2 separate regions of the Homo sapiens genome follow, and region 2 is linked to region 1. The links are contacts of gene promoters, found by promoter capture Hi-C in blood cells and fetal thymus (Javierre and others, 2016). All regions are on one chromosome and are shown on one strand. Each heading gives the region's core, a stretch centred on a gene start or on the middle of the fragment in contact. The rest is flanking DNA. Distances are from core to core; before and after follow the strand shown.

Region 1 (6,571 bases), core at 3,191-5,690:
TTCTCAAGTGCTGCCAAAGTGGGAGCCCAGGCAGAGGAGGCACCGAGAGCAAGCAAGGTCTGTGAGGACTGCCAGCACGCTGTCACCTCTCAATGCCACTGCACTCCAGCCTGGGTGACAGAGTGAGAATCCGTCTCAAAAAGAAAAAAAAAAGAAAAAATGTAACTATGTGAAGTGATGGATATGGTAATAACTTGACTGTGGCGATTACTTCACAGTATATACATATATCATAACATCATGTTGTGCACCTTAAGTATACCCAATTTAAAAAAAATTAAGGTAGAATATAAATATATAATTTATCATCTTCACCATTTTAAAATGTACAGCTCAGTGGCAATAAATACTTTTTTATACTCAATTTTTATTTGTTGGTTGTACCTCACTAAAGCTGAAAAATATATTTGAATAAATGTTAAAGAAATGTAAGTATACACAAACAAGAAAATAAGTATGTAGAAATTGCAATCTTTCCTGAAAATAAGCCAAAAGAATAAAACTCGTATTTAAATTCTTTGAAAAAAAATTAGCAGATGGAACATTTTCTTACATTTGTACAAATGTACTCAAAAATTTTATTTTAAATCAATTTTAATGAGTTATCTCCCATAAATTTCTTACATAGAAAGATTAAGTTGTCCAAAGGCACATCTTATAATATGTTTTGAGAGAATTTTCTGGTTTTGGCAAAAGGGGATCTGCGAATGTGACTGGGGCAGCCTCAGGAAAACATAAGAGGGGGAATTTCTTTTTAAAAGAGACCTCTGGCCACAGACACTAAGTATTTTTAGTAAAAAATGTGGTTAGGCACTGATGGAATATTTTTTTTTTTTTTTTTTTTGAGACGGAGTCTTTCTCTGTTGCCCAGGCTGGAGTGCAGTGGCACAATCTTGGCTCACTGCAACCTCTGCCTCCCAGGTTCAAGCGATTCTCTTGCCTCAGCTTCTCGAATAGCTGGGACCATAGGCACGTGCCACCACGCCCTGCTAATTTTTTTGTATTTTTAGTAGAGAGGGGTTTCACCGTGTTAGCCAGGATGGTCTCGATCTCCTGACCTCCTGATCTGCCTGCCTCGGCCTCCCAAAGTGCTGGGATTACAGGAGTGAGCCACTGTGCCTGGCCCACTGATGGAATTTTGTAAAGCAGGAAGGAAATAATTGTACCATATAATGTTACAAAAATTAAAATTAATATATATTTTTTCTTTGGAATTTATCTTCTGGATAATTTTAATTTAGAAGGAATTTCATTATTTTGTTAATGATTATGGGGTTGCTGTCAGACATTATTTCTACTTTGCTCAGTAATTTGCAGTTATCTGTGAGTTCTGTAGCCTCAAAATTAAAAACTAGGGTGTGGTTATCTTTACTTACATAAAAGTGCAATTTTTTGTGGAATAACAACATTGTTTTATTCTCTAAATATACTTTGCTTTATTTTACTTTGCAAATGATTTTAAAATTCTCCCTCTTTTTTTTTTTTTTGAAACAGAGTCACACTCTCCTGCCCAGGATGTAGTACAGTGGCACAATCTCAGTTCCCTGCAATCTCCACCTCCTAGGCTCAAGCAATTCTCCTGCCTCAGCCTCCTGAGTAGCTGGAATTACAGGCACACATCATGGCACCTGGCTAATTTTTACTTTTTTTGGTAGAGACAGGGTTTCGCCATGTTGGCAAGGCTGGTCTCGAATTCGCCTGCCTTGGCTTCCCAAAGTGCTGGGATTACGGGTGTGAGCCACCGTGCCTGGCCTGATTCAAAAATTCTAATGGCCGGGGCACGGTTGCTCACGCCTGTAATCTCAGCACTTTGGGAGGCCGAGGCGGGTGGATCACGAGGTCAGGAGATCGAGACCGTCTTGGTCAACATGAAGAAACCCTGTCTCTACTAAAAATACAAAAAATAGATGGTCATGGTGGCTCTTGCCTGTAATCCCAGCTGCTCAGGAGGCTGAGGCAGGAGAGTCGTTTGAACCAGGGATTCGGGGGTTGCAATGAGCCGAGATCCTGTGGCTGCACTGCAGCCTGGGCAACAGAGCAAGACAGCAAGACTCCGTCTCAGGAAAAAACAAAACAAAACAAAAATTCTAAGGAATACAGTTACTTGTAGTATTGATGTTTGGCATAGGTCATTCCAATCTTTTTATTATGTATTATTGTTTTTGTAGGTTATTATATATTCTCTTGAATATTTATCTTTGTTTACTGTTCATAATTTTATTATGAAACCAATTTTGGATTTACATAGCGATTTATAGATAGATTTACATAGCAACTTATAGCTTTGAATGTATTTGTAGAAAAGAAAGAGTATTGAAAATAAATGTAGACATTCTACTCAGGAAACAAGGAAACTTTTTTTAATCTTTCTTTAACCTTAGAATTTAGAAATGATAATAAGATGAAACTAGGTTTGGACCTTTTTCTTTTGTTTTTTTGTTTGCAGTTTTTTTTTCTTTTTTTAATTATTTTTATTTATTTATTTATTTTTTATTATTATACTTTAAGTTCTAGGGTACATGTGCACAACGTGAAGGTTTGTTACATATGTATACATGTGTCGTGTTGGTGTGCTGCACCCATTAACTCGTCATTTACATTAGGTATATCTCTTAATGCTATCCCTCCCCCCTCCCCCCACCCCACAACAGGCCCCGGTGTGTGATGTTCCTCTTCCTGTGTCCATGTGTTCTCATTGTTCAATTCCCACCTATGAGTGAGAACATGCGGTGTTTGGTTTTTTGTCCTTGTGATAGTTTGCTGAGAATGATGGTTTCCAGCTTCATCCATGTCCCTACAAAGGACATGAACTCATCATTTTTTATGGCTGCATAGTATTTCATGGTGTATATGTGCCACATTTTCTTAATCCAGTCTATCATTGTTGGACATTTGGGTTGGTTCCAAGTCTTTGTTATTGTGAATAGTGCCACAATAAACATACGTGTGCATGTGTCTTTATAGCAACATGATTTATAATCCTTTGTGTATATACCCAGTAATGGGATGGCTGGGTCAAATGGTATTTCTAGTTCTAGATCCCTGAGGAATCGCCACCCTGACTTCCACAATGGTTGAACTAGTTTACAGTCCCACCAACAGTGTAAAAGTGTTCCTATTTCTCCACATCCTCTCCAGCACCTCTCCAGCACAGAAAGAGTATTGAAAATAAATGTAGATATTCTACTCAGGAAACAAGGAAACTTTTTATCTTTCTTTTAACTTAGAATTTAGAAATGATAATAAGATGAAACTAGGTTTGGACCTTTTTCAATAATTCTGACCACCGTTCAGTAAATTTACTGTATAAGAAAAGTAGAGGTTTGGGGTTGAATTTTGTTTTATTTTTTCCCAAAGATGTCTATCTCTGATATCTTAGGGCCTGGCAATTGTTTTTGGTCATAGGTGGGCTCTGAATAAATGTCAGTTGAACAAATATATAAAAACCAAACAAAGGAATGTTATTTCAACTGCCTTCAGAGTGTCACAACAAATATCAATGAAAAAGAAACAAAAATAAAGACTCAATTAATTCTCCAGTGAACACTTCAGTCCTCTAAAGGTACTTCCCTGTGTCCACCCAAACTGCTCTCTAACCGAACGCAAGCAAGGGGACTCCAATGCTCTCAGGCCATGAACTAATGAGGAGCTTCATGCCTGCCCTCAGTCTTTCTTCATACCCAGGGCAAAGCTGGCCCACAGACTTCCAGACATGCTTTCTTCGTTTGGGTAGAGATGGGGATCCAAGTCCCCTATGTATTTCCTCCAGAGCCACCTGTAAAACATGGGTGAAATCTACCTGCCCTCTAGCTCACCACTTCCAGGTCAAGCCCACTCATGGACCACTTTAACAGTGACAGTTGGCTTGACTGGGGAAACTGAAAAAAAGGAGCTTTCTTTAGATTTTCTGATAATCTGCATTGCCATTGCTGCTCCTTTTTCAGCAGCACAGAGAGTTGGATTATGGAGGGTTGCCTGCTTATTATGCAGCTACATCCAGGATGCTGAGTGTCTTCTGATCATGATCAAGAGCAGAGTGAAGAGATACAGGCGGAGGAGAGGATCACAGAGAGGTAGAAGTGGGAGACTGGTGGATAGGTCACTAGGCACCACTGAGTGACTACCATCACTTCTCACAGATTAGATTATTGACAAGCCAAGTATGGATTTGATTTCTACAAGGCCAAAAGCTACTCCATCTTCTAGCCAGACCACAGACTTTGTTTTAAGCCAGGACTCGTTTTCCAGCAGTTAGTGCAATTAGGGAGGTTGGGAGGATGTACACAAGAGCAGGGAGAAAATCTGGAGCCAGACAGTGAGAGAGGCAGAGGGGAAATGAAAAACCCCGTGGGAGGCTGCAGCAAAGCGAGGCAGTGTGGCTTCTCTGACAGGGAAGTCAGCAGAGGGAGAGGTTTGTCTGTCTGTACAGCAAGGGAAGTCAGACGAGAGTGCAAGAGGGTGTGGAGAGGGGTACTGATATCTGAATTATTAGGGCAGGTGTCCTGCCAAGGAATCCCTCCTTTAACAGAGCTTCAATGCTGCTCCTGTTCCTCCTCTTCGAGGGTCTCTGCTGTCCTGGGGAAAATACAGCAGGTAAGAAGAGTGCAGGTGGAAAGATACCTATGGTAGGGCACCAGAGGGCTGAGAGGAAGCTCTGGGGAGGTCCTGGGGGAAGGGAGCAGTACTCTTCTAGGATGCCCTTGGAATATGCCTTTCAGGCTAGTTCCAGGCAGAGAATTCTTGCTCTCAGTCTCAGTTTTTGTCTCTGATTTTGGAGAAAGGAAGCTGGCCCCACAGGAAAAGGGTATTGGAGTATGTACAAGCTACCTAACTGTCTCTCATCTCTGGGTTCCTTTTTTCCCTTTGGCATCACTTTTCCCATCCCTTTACATTCTCTCTACTTGTCATTTCCCTCTCTCTCAGCTCCCCAGGCTCTACAATCCTATCATCTAGCAGCAGAGGAGCAGCTGTCCTTCCGCATGCTCCAAACTTCCTCCTTTGCCAACCACAGCTGGGCACACAGTGAGGGCTCAGGATGGCTGGGTGACCTGCAGACTCATGGCTGGGACACTGTCTTGGGCACCATCCGCTTTCTGAAGCCCTGGTCCCATGGAAACTTCAGCAAGCAGGAGCTGAAAAACTTACAGTCACTGTTCCAGTTATACTTCCATAGTTTTATCCAGATAGTGCAAGCTTCTGCTGGTCAATTTCAGCTTGAATGTAAGTTCGTTGCTCTAAGCTGATAATTTGCCTGGGAACACCAACTATTTTCCAAAGTGGAAGATAGTATATAGACTCTGACCATCATTTAACCTTACTAACCTTGTTCCCCACTCTCTGACTCCCACTCCCTCCTCTGCTTCACCCTTCACCACCACCCACACTCCACCATATACACAAAAGGGCCTGCATGTACATATCTCAACATGAATATAGCTTCATGTCTGGCTCTTTGGAATGATTGTCTCCTCTGGATCTTCTGCCCCTCATTCCTGCCCTCAGACTCAGCCTTTCTCAACCCTCTTTCTGCCCTTCTTTATCCTTTGCCTGAGTGTTGACATGGACTGGCCTGTACCTAACCACTTTCACGTGAATTATTTATGACCAATCTCCTATCTTCCTGATAGCCTTCCCATCTACCACTTTCCCATTAGTTATTTCAAAGTATCTTTATTATCTTCAAATTTTCTTCCCACAAATTTTCTTCCCCTTTGCCAGTAAACTCTAGTCTCCATATGATTTCCCAGCAAATTTTTCTTCCCTTGAATCTCTTTACTGTCTAAATTGTTTGTTTTTCTTCCTTGTCATTCTTTCCATAATGATCTCTCTTCCCTGTCCACTCTCAGACCCCTTCGAGATCCAGATATTAGCTGGCTGTAGAATGAATGCCCCACAAATCTTCTTAAATATGGCATATCAAGGGTCAGATTTCCTGAGTTTCCAAGGAATTTCCTGGGAGCCATCTCCAGGAGCAGGGATCCGGGCCCAGAACATCTGTAAAGTGCTCAATCGCTACCTAGATATTAAGGAAATACTGCAAAGCCTTCTTGGTCACACCTGCCCTCGATTTCTAGCGGGGCTCATGGAAGCAGGGGAGTCAGAACTGAAACGGAAAGGTGAGCCCAACTCTCTCTCTCCCCTCTTGTTCCTAGTACTATAACTCTCATATTTGAATTTGCCTCTCATCATCATTTTGAAAGACATAGTGAGAGACTAGAGAATGAGATGTGTGGGTTCAGGACTGTTTCTTAGACAAGAGAAAGAAGTGATTACTAAATCACTCTTAGTATTATTACAAAGGCACCTGAGTCTCTGAGCTCTGGCCTGGGGTGCCCTTCAAAATTCCATTTTTTTTCTATCTTCTTCTTCCTAGTGAAGCCAGAGGCCTGGCTGTCCTGTGGCCCCAGTCCTGGCCCTGGCCGTCTGCAGCTTGTGTGCCATGTCTCAGGATTCTACCCAAAGCCCGTGTGGGTGATGTGGATGCGGGGTGAGCAGGAGCAGCGGGGCACTCAGCGAGGGGACGTCCTGCCTAATGCTGACGAGACATGGTATCTCCGAGCAACCCTGGATG
Region 2 (6,571 bases), core at 3,023-5,522, 48 kb after region 1:
ATGGCCATTTTTGCCTCTTCAGAGCACTGTGTTCTATTTGATCATCAAGCATGAGGATGTCATTATTGTTTATTTTTAGTCTATTATTAAATAAAATTACATGATCTGAAAGACTTAAACATATAGCTAAGTGAAAACAAAACAAGAACTATAAATAAAAATAATGTTTAACTTATGATTAACATAATAAAAATCTAGAATTATCAACAATTCTGATAATATCGACTAACATTTTTGTCACTGTAAAACCCAGTTTCTTAGTATTAATATCTTGTTCTCCATTTAAGGCCCAGTTTAAATTTTCTCTCCCTTCTTTTCATCCCACTTATTCTAAATCTTTTTCTCTTTCAGATGGAATAAATACTCATTCCTTTGATTCTCATAACTTTTATTTATATTCTTTTAACTGATCTGATTATCTTGCATTATCATATTTTTTTCAGTGTTCATCTTTTCACCTAACCAGTCCCAACCACCATAAACTATACATTTGTTCATTTTAATTTTTCCTCTTTGAATGGGACTTGGTACACAGATGAATGTATTACTAGATGAATGCCTGTGTCCCGGATAAAAATGCTTCCAGCCACTTCAGACTCTGTTCTGTCTCTCCAACTGGAAAAGCAATTCTTGTCCTTATATTTGTTTTGGTTGTGTCTTTCCTTGAAAAACTCTCATGCTTTTCTCTTTTTGCCAAGTGTGAATTCTTTTTTTTTAACTAGACATCGGACAATATAGAGTGTAGATTGACTTGCATTTTTTTTCTTTTTGGAATAGGAGAAAATAAAAAGGCAAGAGTAGTCTTAATCCTTGGAAACACTGTCTGAGACATGCATTAAAGGTCAGAAAATTTTATGCCTTTGATTTCTTCTGTGACTATCCTAGTTAATTTTATTATTATTTTTTGTTAGCTCATCTTGGTTGCCACAGGCATTCCAAGAACTCTTTTCAATGCAGTTTTTACCTCTTTGTTCCTCAGACTGTAGACAAGAGGATTAAGTAAGGGAGTAACCACTGTGTAGGTCACTGCCACCAACTGATCCTTGTCTGAGGCAGACTTGGACTTGGGCCGCAGATAGATGATAGAGGCACAGCCATAGTGGACAAAGACCACAGTGAGATGTGAGGCACAGGTGACAAAGGCCTTCTTGCCCTCAGCTGAGGGGATCTTCAGGATGGTGTTAACTATGAAGCCATAGGATATGAGAATTAACAGAAAAGGCACCATAATTACCAGGATGCTGAGGCTAAATAAAGCCAGCTCTTTCACATGGGTGTCAGTGCAGGCTAACTTGATAACAGGTGCCATGTCACAGAAATAGTGGTTAACCCTGTTGGGGCCACAAAAACGCATGTCACAAATGAGGTTGGTGGCCACCAAAGCAATAAAGAAACCTGTGGCTCCTGAGAGAGAAATCAACTCCAACCCCAGCCTTTTGTTTATGATGAGTGTGTACCTCAGAGGGTGACAAATTGCTACATAGCGATCATATCCCATCACAGCAATGAGGAGGCAGTTGGTGCAAGCAAAGCCAAGGAAAAAGAACAGCTGGGTGGCACAGGCCATGAAGGAGATGGTCTTGGTGTCTGAGAGCAGGTGGACCAGCAGCTGAGGGATGATGACAAAAGTGTAGCAGGACTCAGAAAATGAAAGGATGAATAGAAAGCCATACATGGGAGTGTGGAGAGTCCAGCTGAAGCGAATAACGGCCATGATGGTCACATTGGCCACCAGGATTGTCAAGTATAGGAGAAGAAAGATGACAAAAAGCAGCAGCTGGAGCTCCCCCAGGCTGGAGAAACCCACCAGGATGAACTGTGTAACCACAGTGGTTTTGTTGAAACCTCGCATCTGAAGAACTTCTTTCTGTGAATGTGTTTGAAAGAGACAAAATGATAACTATCTTTGTAATACGAACATTTTCCCAACGCCTTCACTTTAAGTATATTGTCAGATTCATAATGTTAACATCTCTTTCTCTTAGTCTATCTAGATATAGATGCCTCTTTAATGATTTTTCCAAAAAATTATTAATCTGAAGTAACAGAGAAATGATTATCTACAGTATATAAATACCCCAAAGTTAAAAGGATCCAACTATTTGACAAAGTGAAAAAATTCTCTCAGTTTAAGAAGAACATTACCTTTAATATGGAATAGAAAATTTAAATTATTTTTCTTGTACTGTATGTATTTGGTCCTTGGATGTATATTCTATCCTAGTAATTTGGTTTCTTTTCCTAATATCACAATCCATTTAATTAGCATTATTGTAAAGGCATTAAAACACTGTGCCTCAGAGCATGAACTCAGGAACAAGAATGCTAGAGTTTGAAACTTGCCTTTGCCACTTAGAGCTATGAACTTCAGTGTGACAATTTTTGTCATTTGTAAGACATAAATAATAATAGAACATATTATATAGGATTGTTGTAAGAACTTAGATGGTATCAGTAAAGTACTTGAAACAGCACTTAACACATAGTAACTCCAATCTATGTGTCAGCTGCTTATGCAGTTAAGGAGTTGAGAGGCAAATATCCTGGTTTGATATTTGAACACTAGAAGAGCCTGGATCCTTAAATCAGGACAGAGTTTCCCTGCATTTGACTCAAGTGTTCTTATCCTTGAGATTCTTTTTTTAAAATTGAGCAAAAATTTAAATATGCACAGTTAAAGAAAGAACTGTTACTTTTACATTAAAAATTATTTTCTTTTTAATTTATTTTTTATTAGCAACTAATAATTATACCTATTTATGGGGTATTATGTGATGTTTGGATACATGTATACATTGTGGGATGATTAAATCAGGGTTCTTTAATAAATCTGCCCTTTTTTATCTAAGGAGTCTATAGCCTTTGAATTCTCTTTCATGATTCTATGACATTTGTTCTGTATGTTTCTGGAACTGTGAAGGGACCCAAGTGTAAAACCTGGGTCACAAGGTTATGATGTATCTGTCTATGAAACAAAATAGATTGATGATCACTAGGGATAGGGGTGGAGCAGGAAGACTTAGGTTAAGTCTTCTCTCTATTGAAGAAAGGAGAGGAAATAACGTGAACACACCTTGAATCTCTTGCAAATAAAATAGCCAGAAAGTGCTAAATGGAAAGAGAAGAGCCTATCTCAGGAACTTCCCATTATTTTATAGTCTAGGTTATTCCTCCTCCCAGAGCCCTAATCATTTTTACTTTCAGAATCAGCTTCAGAGATTCAGGAGAAACCAGATGTAATATTTGCACAACTCAACATCTCCCAACTTGTTGGCTACTTTAATGGCTATAAGATGTTAGGAGTTGTTTGACATGACACACTTGAGTTTGTTCATTGTTCATCATCTCTGTTGTGGTTTATTTGCTTAGGTAGTTCCACACACCTGCTACAACAGCTTTTTCCTTTGTTTCAGACCTTGCGGAAAATAAGATGCTTTCATGTAAGCTACTTCATTTTGACTCTAACATCCTGGTAGATAGCAAAAGTGTCTGTCGCTATCTCACGGGTAAGGCAAGTGTACTAAGTGCCCTCTCCTGGGCAGAGTAACCCATGAACATCCTCATCCTTGCATTTAACATGTTGCATTGAACATACCTCTTTATATATTTGGCACTCTTTATAGATTATAAGCTTCTCACATGCAGGAATAACTTTTTTTAATTAAAAAATGAGTCCCTAGAATATAGCATAGTTTGTGATTTATCATGTGCTCAAATATTTTGACTTGATTAGAATGTCAAAAATTAAATAATATGCTCAAGTGGTAGATCCAGTATCAGAATTCAAGTCTTCTAACTTCAAATCCACTTTCTACTTACCAAATTTTATGGCACCCATTCTTTACCTTGTGAGAAGATGATCTGCTCATATACTTTTTCCAAGGGATGAAAGCATAGTTCCACACTGCTTGTTCAAGTAAAACTTATTTGAACATTTCTGACTTTTCTGGAATAATCCAATTTTAATTATCCAAGTTTTTGAATTATCAAATTTTACAATATGAGCTTTATTCTCTTTAATCTTAATATTAGGGAGATAAGAAAAAAAGGAAAAAGGGGTAGGAAAGTAGGCAAATCAACGATATGATTGATGAAAACACTCAAAGGCAAGGAAGGTCAAGAGGATGTTGCTTAATTTCAATCACAGTTTTATGAACCAAACAAATTGCAATGTCTCCCTAAATCATTAGCTTCTTTTTCTGTGACTTTCATGAGAATTTTGTTAAATAAAAAATATCCTCTAATCTTGTCCTCAACACTAGTACTGCTTCTATATCTTTTTTCAGGTTGCTTCATATACTTGTTTTGCCCATTGTTTTTCATATTCAAATCCCTGTCATGTCCCATGTTCTCCAATAAACCTTCCCTGCCTACTAGAGTCCATACAGATGCTCATTCTCTTCATAGCCCTTAGGGACTTTAAAATCATGCATGTATGGGAACAGGTTAGGTAATATCTTGTATTACTTTATAACCAATTTGCCTATGTGGATGCCTCATAACCTTACTTACATTCTTTCTTTGAGGCAGGGGGCATAGCAACGTATTCTAAACAATCCGCAGCAGCTGCAAACAATACTGGGCACACAACAGACACTAATTAAATACTTAATAAATTATGGCATGGTTTATTTCATTCTTCTTTTGTTTATGAGTTTTCTCATCTGCTATTTTTTTCTGGAATATATTCTTTGTTCTACTATAATCCGTATTATTTTTAAATTTTTATTTTTTTTCAAAATCATCTTTTACTTTAAAAGGAGAAATCTACACTGCTGAGTTTTCCTGCCTTTCTAGTTACTTCTGTTGCTTGACATCTCAGCATTTAAATTTGATATATTAAGATGGGGTGGGTGTATATGTGTGTGTGTGTATATGTGTCTGTATCTGTGTGTGTGCACTCTAGCAGAGTGGAAGCTTTTTCATTTCAAGAAAAGAGCAAATAAAGTTTTACTTTGGCTCAGAATCCTTTTTATAACAATAAAAACTGCTAATGAATTCACACCTGAATTTTTGGTAGAAAATATTTCTTTCTTTAGATAGTAACTGACAAAGAAAATAGACTTACCTACTTATGTTCAAAAGATCAAGGAAGCTGCCATATGACTTTGTTGACTTATACTCTGGTAGGTCTTTTAAATATTGAAAGAGGCAGCAGAAAGTCAGTTGTAAAATCAATGACATCTGTCCCAGAAGATTAAATAATTGGAAGAAAATGCACTGAAGCATTTCATAAAGGGCTTATATGGAGACTTAGTTGTCCAAACCTTTTTAAGTCTTAAATAAGAGCTGAAAATAGTCTGGTTTATATTAATATGTCAATTCAGATTCTATATAATTGTATTTGAGAGTATTTATAGCCTTCTGGGATTCTAAGGAGTAAGGCCTTCTGAGACTTAGTAAGAGCTAAAACAAGAGAGGAAATAAATGACTAACCTTGAACAAGGACATATTATTTAATACCAGAAGAAAAAAATTCAAATGGCAATAAAACATTCCATCTCTGCAAAGAACTACAAGTGTAGATAAGTATTCTAGTGATTTTCTGACATCAAGACTACAAAATGTTGAAATGCCAGGAGAAGCCAAATTCTCCAACCAGGAGATATACAATAAAACTGCCTTGATAAGGCCTAAGAGATGAAGGCAGGGGTTGGTGAGTGCTGGTTGCTTGGCACTTTTGGGAATTACCTAAGTAGTCTCTGTTCTCCTAAATCAAAACCTGGAAAAAATTCAAATAACTGGATTTCTTAATTCTGTCCTAGGAATTATTGTAAGGAAATGACTTTCATCGAGGAACCATTCATTGAGTACCATGATTTAGAGAGCAGGATATGAGACATTATAGTGATACAAAGATAAAATGTATGAATTGATCTGCTCTAGTAGAGAAGACAGATGTAAGCAGAGCTATGTGTAATAAGAGGTAAAATGATGTTCAGTGTTATTGTGACATTAACAACAGGGCAGCTACAAGGATGAGCACCCCCAGCAGGGATTGCCTTGACCACAGCCAGGGCCGAGATTCAGCAAATGACTTCATGAATAAAAACATTCTGGAATAATAAGCCAAGTAGAAATATAAGAATTAGGAATAAAAAGTCAATACTGAATGTTTTGTGCCTAGGACACTCAAAGGAAAAAGGAGTGAGGAGGAAGACTGAGAACTATTTCTTGTAGTGGCTTGGCTGGTCACATGAGAAAACTTTCTGAAAACAAAATTGCTGGGAAAAATTTTAAAAAATTTTAGAAACCTATTGACAAGTTGAAGGTATAGTAGGAATTTTTAGGCCAAAATCTGAAGAAAATAAAATCCACAGAGGAACACTGGAAATTGCTTCTATTCTGAGGACATTTATTTACCTGTATGAAATTACAAACTCAAGCTGTTGATTTGAGAGAATCACAGGATGAGGCTGACAGAAATTAAAGACCAGAATCTAACAAATGGGGGAGTCAAAAATTAGATATTAAAGAGATTTTCTAGTTCCCATATTTGATGCTTTGACATCTGGACCTTCCTGACCAGGAAAAAAGCAGCCCTCCTAGGGTTAGCAGATTCATAGAGATA

The links. The method cuts DNA at HindIII sites, captures the fragments that hold promoters and counts their contacts. A CHiCAGO score of 5 or more calls a contact.
Region 2: a fragment that was not itself captured here is called in contact with the fragment with the promoter of CD1E in region 1 in 1 of 17 cell types (fetal thymus); the score reaches 6.8 in fetal thymus.

The regions. Positions count from the first base shown.
Region 1 is chr1:158,349,454-158,356,024 of GRCh38, forward strand. CD1E (CD1e molecule) reads left to right here and starts at 4,441. Exons shown (of 6, transcript NM_030893.4): 1 at 4,441-4,593; 2 at 4,924-5,220; 3 at 5,847-6,116; 4 at 6,374-6,571. The coding sequence starts at 4,536. The HindIII fragment of the contact is 6,143 bases long and covers 1-5,191 here.
Region 2 is chr1:158,397,615-158,404,185 of GRCh38, forward strand. OR10T2 (olfactory receptor family 10 subfamily T member 2) reads right to left here and starts at 1,852. Exons shown (of 1, transcript NM_001004475.1): 1 at 908-1,852. The coding sequence starts at 1,852. The coding sequence ends at 908. The HindIII fragment of the contact is 1,286 bases long and covers 3,630-4,915 here.